Regions from separate parts of the Homo sapiens genome. Here region 2 is linked to region 1. Evidence: promoter capture Hi-C in 16 types of primary human blood cells and fetal thymus (Javierre and others, 2016). All regions are on one chromosome and are shown on one strand. Each heading gives the region's core, a stretch centred on a gene start or on the middle of the fragment in contact. The rest is flanking DNA. Distances are from core to core; before and after follow the strand shown. Region 1 holds the start of ZNF32-AS2 (ZNF32 antisense RNA 2). Region 2 has its middle 190 kb from the start of TMEM72.

Region 1 (5,146 bases), core at 1,312-3,811:
ATGGCGTCGGGGCGTGGGAGGGGGAGGCCGCGGCAGGCTCACCCGGCCTCCGTGCGGGCTTCAGCGAGTGCGGGAAGCCGGTGCCGGCCTTCCGGGGTGGGAGGAGAGGCAGCCCCTGCGGGGGAGAGTAGGAAGCCAGGCAGCGTGTGGGAAACCACGCTACCCACAAGCTCCTAAACCTGAAACTGGCCCCAGGACATTTTCCAGACCGCCAAGTGTACCCCTCTTCTCATCCGCCCTCCAGAGGACGCCGGATTTTAGATCTTAAGTCTGGTGGTCTCGTCTGATACTCCTCTTGTTTGGTTCTTTCCTTCTCATTGTCCTACCTGATAGGACAGTGTTAGTAACCTGTTTAATAAGTGGGGAAGCAGAGTCAGGGCTGCTGGGTTACTCGCCCAAGATCATATCCTGGGGGAGCCACGGCAAGAAGCCAAGACTCACGGACTACTTCTAAGCTTTTTCCAAAGGATATAGTAGCCTTTCTAATAGGAAAATCAATGTTTTTAATTATAAAGCCACTTTTACAAAATCTTGGGGAAACTGCTTCCTCAGACCTGTGATCTAGGGAGAAAAATATGACAATTTCTCCCTTACTAATCACGGAGGTCCCTGATAGGCGGCGGAGTTGTAACTTGAAGACCTCACAGCAGGTGGAGAGGCAGAGCTGTGAATTCTACTCTAATTTCTGGAATCCCCGGCGACAGAGTCCAACCCCAGGCAGCAGGCGCCATGTACCCCAGGGACTTTTAATGTGTGTGCAGCTGTTGAGCAAGAATACCTTGAACTTCCAAATGATGTGCTGGCATGCTGGTAGGGAATTCCTTTGCAGCTTGTGTTCCAAGTTGGAAGTGAGTCCTCCAAATAAAAATTTAAATGATTCTCCTGGTCATCACAGCATGTAGCAGAATGTGCAGTTGTCAAGAAGAACCAGGTGCTTAGGTTGACAAAACAAAGAATGGTAGCATCATACTATTATTTCATTAAATCAGAAGGCCAGCATTTTGATAGGACAAATTAGAGGGAAACAAGGAGTATGCATTGAACCACTGCATTTCTTAAAAGTATAAGAATTCAGTAATTAGGATCCTGAAGTAAGAAGAAATATTTTTTTTAAAAAATAGATCATGTGGGCCAGGTGTAGTAGCTCATGCCTACATGTCTTGGGAGGCCGAGGCAGGAGGGTCACTTCAGGCCAAGAGTTGGAGACCAGCCTGGGCAGGATAATGAGACCCGATCTCTACAAAAAAAAGTTAAAATAATTTTTAAAAATTAGCCAGGCTTGGTGGTGCTTACCTGTAGTCCTAGTTATTTGGGAGGCTGAAGTGGGAGGATCCGTTGAGTCCAGGAGTTCAAAGTCACAGCAAGCTGTAATTGAGTCACTGTACTCCAGCCTGGGCAACAGAGCAAAATCTTGACTCAGAATTTTAAAAAAATTAAAAAATAATTTAGAGCACATACAAGAGGATTCCTAGGATCTGAAAGAGCACTTCAATCTGGTCAAACTCTCTTCCTTTCTGTTCAATTTTATAAGCATTCTGACCAGCTCTTTAGTGATTAGGAACTAGACAACTGTCTAATGTAAGAGCATACATTTTGGATCCAGAAAGTCTTGGATTTGAACCTTTGCTCCACTTTGACTCCTTATTTTCTGTGGGTTTCTGGGCAAGTTACTTAACCTAGTTGGAGTGCCTTGGGCTTGGAGTCCAGAGTAGGTCTTTCTTTTCCAAGAATTGACAAGTGTTTACACTTGGTCAGAACTGGTATTCTTGTATCTTCAAGAGCAAGAGAAAGGCGAGTCTGGGTCTGGAGCCTCCTAAGAATTGTTCAGTGGTAACAAATGGACTCTCTTGTTAAGTCTTTGTAACTACAGATAACTGGAGAGCTGATTGGCTCCAACCAATCATGAAGGCTGAAATGTTGTTTTCTTAGATTCTGAATTCCTCTGGGGCTTGGAGGGAAGAAAGTAGTAGGTGGTTAGGTGGGGAACCAAAATGGAAGATCCCAATTACATGCCAAGACCAAAGTGTAAACAGGAGTGACTATTAACTTGGGATTGGCAGGAAGAGATATATGTTTATGTGTTCTCTGCTTTCCCACATCCTGCTTCCTCCTAGACTCATTTGTGTGTGGTCCTGGTACCTTTGGGCCCATTTTGCAGTGATATTTTAGTAACTGACATTATGTCAAACAATCTAGGTTTCTTACATTCACTTATGTCTCAACAACTGTTGACTTTTTCCTTCTCACATATCAATTATTCTGCCCTTTCCTGTTTGTTTCTGTTTGTTTTTCTCCCTCAGGTGCTCAGGAACAGCCCATGGAAGAATCATATGAAGAGGTGGTGACTGAGGTCGTAAGCAGGAGTGGACATGTTTGGATTTCCAACAGCTACCCTGCTGGACTGTCATGGAAGATATGCCCAGAATGTAGCGTTCTTCAGTGAGTGAGTCAGTTGATGGCTGGATGCGCTCAGCTCACAGATATTCAGTGTCCCTGTTCTCAGCACTGGTCGGCAGTCTGAGGAAGCAGAGGAGACCTTGCTTTGGTAGAGCTTGCTGTTCCTAGGGTTATAAGAAAAGCCTGTGAGCTGGAGTTAGAAGTAATAGTAGAAACAGAGCAAGAGAACCATCTTGATATGGAGGTAGCGTTGAAGTAGTCTCTGAGAATGAATGAGCAGCTTAAATCTCAGCACTGTCTCTGAATAAGGCAAGGGAACAAGGAGAAGATTACCCTGGAGTGACAGACACCAAGAAAACTGTTAATGGTGATGAATGGACCCATATTTAAAGTGCACCAGGAGGCTCAGATGCAGGGCAGTATTCGGAAAAAAAAAAGTCAATATCTGCATAGAGAATAACTTCCAAACCAAAATTGATTTCAGTTTTGCCATAGCTTAGTAGACTGAAAATAGCAAGGATTTTAATGGGAAAAATTCCTTGGATCAGATTCTATAATTGCCATGGCTAGATCTGCAGTATCAGACAGGTTATTTAACTTCCTTAAGCTCCAGGTTCGTCTGTAAAATAGGACAATAAGTTCTATCTTGTAGGGTTGCAGGGATTAGCAATGATAGATGTAAAGTACCCAGGATTGTGCTACATATTTTCTGAGGTCATGGTGCTTATTCTATTGTCAGAACAGATTGGACAGAGGTGGATTTCTGAAGAAGCAAATGCAGCTTCAGTTTTAGGACCCCTCACTTGGATTGGTCTCTCCAAGACCCTGTGCTTAATTTTATACATTTTCTTAAAAGGGTGCCTCTAAAATGGGAAAGTTTTAGGCCTTATATAGCCTGGATCCACACCTGTTTTGGAGTCAGATAAAAGTTGGGTATGGGGCTCTGTGTGATTCTGTATAGTTTTCTAAATTTTCTGAGCCTGTTTTCTGACCTGTAAAATAGAGAAAACCATGTCTATCTTACAAGGTTATTTGTTGGCCTAAATTAAATTTAGAGGCAGTACACTGCTATGGAGAATGCCTATTTGAGTCAGCTCTAACTTACCTAGCTCTGTGACCTTTGACAGGCTCCCTTTGCTCCCATTATCTGTATCACTCTCATGGCATTGTTTTCAGGATTGCATTGTCTATGCAAAGAATAAGGCCTGGCACATCATAAGCACTCAAAGTATTATGTTTCTTTTTCCCTATTCTAACTCAGCATTATTGGTGCTTCTTATATGACTTCCCTCTCATTTTATCAGATGTGATGACTGAAGCCCACCACAAATATGACCACTCTGAGGCTACAGGATCCTCAAGCTGGGATATCCAAAATTCTTTCAGAAGAGAGAAGCTGGAACAAAAATCCCCAGATTCGAAGACACTACAGGAAGATTCACCTGGAGTGAGACAAAGGGTCTATGAGTGCCAGGAGTGTGGAAAATCCTTCCGGCAAAAAGGTAGTCTAACGTTACATGAGAGAATCCACACTGGTCAAAAGCCTTTTGAGTGCACCCACTGTGGAAAAAGCTTCAGGGCCAAAGGCAATCTTGTTACACATCAACGGATACACACGGGAGAGAAGCCTTATCAGTGCAAGGAGTGTGGGAAAAGCTTCAGTCAACGAGGTAGTCTCGCTGTCCACGAGAGACTCCACACTGGACAGAAACCCTACGAGTGTGCTATTTGTCAGAGAAGCTTCAGGAATCAGAGTAACCTTGCTGTTCACAGGAGAGTTCACAGTGGTGAGAAGCCCTATAGATGTGATCAGTGTGGAAAAGCCTTCAGTCAGAAAGGAAGCTTAATTGTTCACATCAGAGTCCACACAGGCCTGAAGCCCTATGCCTGTACCCAGTGCAGGAAGAGTTTCCACACCAGGGGGAATTGTATTCTGCATGGCAAAATCCACACAGGAGAGACACCCTATCTGTGCGGCCAGTGTGGAAAAAGCTTCACCCAGAGAGGGAGTCTGGCTGTGCACCAGCGAAGCTGCTCACAGAGGCTCACCCTTTGACCACTTTCCTGAAGAGAAGTTCTCTTTATGAATTAAGAGTACAAAATCCTCTGAGATGAAGCAACCTATCCAGTTCTATGGAATGAATGGAGAATCTTTCAGAAAGACCATCATTGGGTAGGGCAAACTGATTTTTTTCCTTTCCCCCAAAAGAGTATGAAAAATAAATGTCTTGTTTATTATCATTATCATGTATGTTTTATAATTTCTGTCACTTTATTCTGACCTGATTTTTCAAGGTACCCCCATTAATCTGGTGCCACACTAGAGATTGTTCTGTGTATACCCAATACAGATTTTAAATTTGTAGTTGACACCATCAGGCTTTTATAAATGTAAAAAATCAGCCCCTCATCAATCCCAAGTTATTTTTCTTCCTTACATATTCAAATTAATCTTGTTTTGCCTTCAAAACCACTGGGCAAAATCCATGGGGCAAATCTAGTTACCTTTATAATCTTCTTGTTGAACATTTCATTACCTGGATGATACCCCCAATAACCTATTGTAACTAATCACTCATGTCTATAGCAAGGGGCCTAGCCTTTTATTACAAAAGAAAATTTCTTTCCAAGCCTGCACAGCCTTAGTTTGTGCATTGAGACATACTTCAGTCCTCCACTCCTAACTAGGATAGAGATAATTCACCTGTAACCAAAGAGCAAACAACTACTGTCTGTGCAATTTTTAAAA
Region 2 (5,047 bases), core at 2,284-4,783, 1.1 Mb before region 1:
CTGAGGAAGAGAATTAACATTTGGATATCTCCTATGATCCATACACTATTTTATTTTATTTTTTAAAACTCTAAATAACTCAGTGAGCCATGCATTATTGTTCCCATTTATGAATGTAAAGACAGGTTCAGAGTGGAAAACTAGGAAATAACACAACACTAAAACCGGGTGTTCCTGACTCCAAAGTTCATGGTGTGACCAGTTTATCGCTCTATTTCTCCCATGCTTGAAATATTTAGGGGGCTTAATAATTTAACTCAGAACCTTTGAGGTTCGCTAAACCTGGAAGAGCTCCAGGTGGGGAGGGATAGGTGACTGCATTTTTCCAATTGTATCTCTTGGCCTGATTGGATCATTGGAGTCCTTACTTATTCTTACAGCTGGCCCATATTACCTTTTTACCTGTAAGCAAGCCCACACCTGGGATTTTCTAAAAATAGCTGAGGAAGACTGGTTCATTAAAATGTCTTTCCAAAACACTAAAAGACAACCCAGGGGATAAATACAAACCACAGGAGAAATGCGGGTATTTCTCCTGGAAAGCCAAACATTTGGTTTCTACTAGATACAGTTCATGCCCCTACCGCTGCTGTCCCAAGAGAGGCCTGCTCTCTCCCCTCAGTGACAGGCCTTGTGTCTTGGTTTATGTCCTAATACATGGTCTAATTCACATAATAAAACTCGGGAGCAGCTGAAGAGGGATCTTAACTTTTTCCTTGAAAATAATAGAAGACAGATCCCATCTCTCACCTCTTGATTATCTGTCCTAAGACTTTTTTTTTTTTTTCTTTCCTGGCTGGGCACACTGTCTCATGCCTGTAATGCTAGCACTTTGAGAGGCTGAAGCAAGAGGATCATCCCAGGCCAGGAGTTTCAGACTAACAGTTTCAGACCAGCTTGAGAAACATAGTAAGAGCCTGTTTCTACAAAAAATTAAATAATCAGCCAGGTGTGGTGGTGTGTGCCTATAGTCCCAGCTACTTGGGTGGCTGAGGCAAGAGAATCCCTTGAGCCCAGGAGGTCGAGGCTGCAGTGAGCCATGATCATGCCACTGCACTCCAGCCTGGGCAACAGAGTCACTCTGTTTCTAAACAACAAAAGAAATACATTTTTTTCCTAAATGAATGATTTCAGGTGTCATTTCATCCTTTGATTTAGATCCTGCTATTATATAAAATGCTGATCTTGTTTCATACACATCCACCCAAAATATTTATACAAAGTTTCCCAAAGTATGATATTTGTGTCCCTAGAAAGCCTCAAGATGATTTAAAATGGTATACAAATCCATACTTTTATTTTAATAATTATGTCATTATTTAAAATGTATAGTTATTTTAATATGCGTGATAAAATTGTAACTAGTGCCTAAAATGATAATTTAACTGACTTGAATAACTTTTAAAAGGAGTTTAATTTAAATAAAAACGACTTTTGCATTCATCCATGAAGAAGTGACTCTTATGAAGGTAATGACAGTAAAATAACAACAACAATAACAACTAGAAAACTGGGCAAAATAGATGAAACATCTGCTTTCAAACACTGGGCAATAGACAGGACCAGACTATGACATGTGAGTAAATGGAAGCAAAGGAGGTAATCCCATGGTCACCCTGCTATTCTACCTGGGAGTAAGTTCTGGACCACGACACAGGGAGCAGAAACTCAAACAGAGCCTGGGATCTCTCTGAGTTCACATGTCATAGATCAGAGTTCAAGAAGGATGAGGCAGTTAGAATTGGTGGGACAAAGTACCATAAAGTAAGGACTTAATTACACAGTGGAAAAGCTCCAAAAAGCTGAATTGAGTCTTTGGCTGAATACTAATCTTTTTTTTTTTTTTTGAGACAGGGTGTCACTGTCACCCAGGCTGGAGTGCAGTGACACAATCTCAGCTCACTGTAACCTCTGCCTCCCAGGCTCAAGTGATCCGTCCACCTCAGCCTCCCAAGCAGCTCAGACTACAGGCATGTGCAACTACCCTTGGCTAATTTCTAAATTTTTATAGAGATTGGATCTTCATATATTGCCCAGGTTGGTATCAAACTCCTGGGTTCAAGCAATCCTCCTGCCTCAGCCTACCAAAGTGCTGGGATTACAGGCATAAGCCAGTGTGCCCAGCCTGAATACCAATTTTAATATGCATATGGCAAAACTTTACAAGACCAGACAAAGAACACTGCTAGGAAAATAACATAGACAGTGGACCTGTAAGATGAACAATTCCTAAATTTTGCACAGTTTGAAATCATTCAATATTTCACTATCCAGTGTGAAAGAGACTGGTTGGATACAGGGGGCATTTAGTGATGATCCCAGAAACATCATCCCATAGTAGTGGGAATAAAGTAGCCCAAGACCTGCCCTAGAAAAGGTTAAAAATAAGACTCGAAAGGATTAAGCTACACTGTAAGTAGTTTACTGCCTTACAGAAAAAAGTAACACTCATTAGAGGAATACAACAAGATCCAGAGAACTAAAAAACAAAACCTACTATGTCTGATACTCAATAAAAAATTGCCAGATATATATAGAAACAGAAAATGTGGCCCATAACTAGAAGAAAAATCTATCTATCTGCCTACCTATCTATCTATCTACCTATCTATCTGTATCTATCTGTCTTATCTATCTTTCATGAGAAATGGTGACAGACATTGCAGAATATAATATCAGTAGATTTGAAAACAAACAACGTAAAACTACATACTGAATCATACAGAGGTTATAAATACTGATAAATTACTGATAAATAAAAGAGATTCCATGAGCTGTGGTATCAAGCAGTCTAACGTATAGTAGGAATCATAAAAGGGGAAGAGGTAGAGGGAGGAACAGAAAGATATTTGAAAATATAAATATAAAAATATAAATAAAATATAAATTTTGCAAATTTATGAAAACCATTTCATAAATTTGCAAAATTATGAAAACCATTTATCAGAGATCTAATAAAATCTATGAACCCTAAACAGGACATACATAAAGAAAATAACACCAAAGCACATCATAATCAAATTGCACATAACTAAGTATAAAGAGAAATTCCTAAGAGCAGCTAGCAAGAAAAAAGACATTATATGCACAAGACCAACATACAAATAGCATATTTCTAGTCAGAAGTTATATAAGCCAAAATACAATGAAGCAACATTTTTAGTGTACTGAAAGTAAAATAGAACTGTTAATCTAGAATACTATACCCAGTATATATATATTTCAAGTGTAAATGTGAAATATAAACATTTCCAGATAAAAAATTGCTGGGAGGAATTATTGCCAATAGACCTGCACTTCAAGAAATGTTAAAGAAAGTTAATTAGGCAAAGGAAAATGATATCAGATAAAAACTTGGATCTATACAAAGAAATAAAGAGCATTAGGAATAATAACTATGTAGGTAAATATAAAAGACTTTATTCTTATTGTTAAAGCTTCTTTTGAAAATTTACTGTTTAAAGCAAAAAATAAGAAGATGAGAATGTATGGTGGGGTTTATAATATATGTGAAAGTGAATGATATAAAAGCAATAGCACAAAGGATAGGAGAAGTGGAAGTATACCGTTATAAGATTGTTACATTATATGTGAAAAAATATGTATGATATTATTTGAAGGAAAGCTTCAGTAAGTTAAAGATGTATATTGCAAAACCTAGAGCAGCTATTAAGAAAATTAAAAGATGGTATAGTTAATTAGGCAATGATAGAAATACAACTGAATCTTGAAAACTATTCAATTAATCCAGAAGAAAGCAAAAAAAAAAAAAAAAAGAAAAAAAAGAACAAAGAAGAAAACAAATAGAAACAAAATAGCAGATTCAATCTAGTAATGTCTATAATAATAATTGTTATTACCATTATTATTTTAATGTAATGCCATTAGATGTAACCGGTCTGAAAACTCAGTAACAGGCAGAGATTATCAAATCAATTTACATAAAAATATTAAATTGGTGATACACAGGTGAGAAGATAAGGCAAAACTCATAAAGATAATATAATAACTAAGAATCTGACAAACACTGTTTAAGTAAAATATAATAACTATAGCACTAATTTAATTAAAAATGCACACACAGTGTTGGAGATTGAGGTTGAGAGTGTATGAGGGTTCAGTTCTCAAATAATATAGGGATAAAAATCATTACATTCAATTCAAATCTCATTTTATAAATGGCTATTTTCTGTAATGTCCTCCTCAAAAGGCTAGGAGTGGATCTAAGTAACCTATGTATTGTTGATAAACCTTCTGATTTAATTATTTGTAAATTATATATGGTTTCTTTTGAATATATTGATAATGTTAGCCAATACTACAAAATGGAGAAATAATGTCTATAATTTTACTATTTGCTATGTTTAAGACTTTTAATAGAAACATAAGTAATATTCCTGCATATTCTGTCTTATTAGATGTTTCAGATATGGAAACTGAGGTTCAGGTTGATTGAATGCCTGATTCCTGTTTTTATAGTGCTCACACGGCATAAATGAAGTCATATATCTTTACTTCTAGATTGCAAATGCTGTCAAATTTCCTTCCCCACCCCCAGTTCTGCTAGGCAAGGATTCATAATGAGTGTCCAGGCTCTCCTTAGCTTTCCTTCTTTTAGTGGTGTAAATATTTTAGATTTTTCTTTCCAGTTTTAGTATTTCCAGGCCAGCAGGTCCTCATCTCTTCAGCACCTCATTAAGCCACACTCTTGTTCCCCTGGCATTCTGCTTCCCCAAATCCAGCGTAGCAGCATGAAGACCTATGGAATCACCCCCGTGCCTTCCTTCCTGTGTCCCTGTTTGTAGGGGGGTGTGAATCAGATGGTCTGGATTCAGAGCTGGTCTGGCCAGGTACTAACTACAAAACTTGAGGAAGTTACAGAACTACTCCAAGTCTGAACTTGTTCAGCAATAAAGGACATTACAATAGTGGAGGTCTCCCACAGCGGGAATTCATTGCTGTCGTGTAAAGCTCTTAGCAGAGTATCTAGAATAAGACACACACCCTAAAAGTAGCTATTGTTTTTGTTACTGTTATTCTCACTAAT

What was found. Contacts are between HindIII fragments. The CHiCAGO score rates a contact against its expected background, and 5 or more counts as called.
Region 2: a contact is called between a fragment that was not itself captured here and the fragment with the promoter of ZNF32-AS2 in region 1, in 1 of 17 cell types (M1 macrophages). The highest score is 6.5, in M1 macrophages.

What each region holds. Positions count from the first base shown.
Region 1 is chr10:43,643,357-43,648,502 of GRCh38, reverse strand. It overlaps ZNF32-AS2 (ZNF32 antisense RNA 2), which reads right to left and starts at 2,561. Exons shown (of 3, transcript NR_047558.1): 1 at 2,206-2,561; 2 at 1,294-1,391; 3 at 484-934. It overlaps ZNF32 (zinc finger protein 32), which reads left to right. Exons shown (of 3, transcript NM_006973.3): 2 at 2,301-2,439; 3 at 3,702-4,641. The coding sequence starts at 2,370. The coding sequence ends at 4,453. The region is part of intron 1 of ZNF32-AS3 (ZNF32 antisense RNA 3); the gene reads right to left. It overlaps ZNF32-AS1 (ZNF32 antisense RNA 1), which reads right to left and starts at 4,631. Exons shown (of 2, transcript NR_047557.1): 1 at 4,396-4,631; 2 at 3,456-3,653. RefSeq lists a silencer at 1-116 and an enhancer at 1,668-2,867. The HindIII fragment of the contact is 3,514 bases long and covers 458-3,971 here.
Region 2 is chr10:44,716,474-44,721,520 of GRCh38, reverse strand. No RefSeq gene overlaps it. Among named protein-coding and RNA genes, the nearest start is that of TMEM72, 190 kb to the left of the region's middle. The HindIII fragment of the contact is 188 bases long and covers 3,440-3,627 here.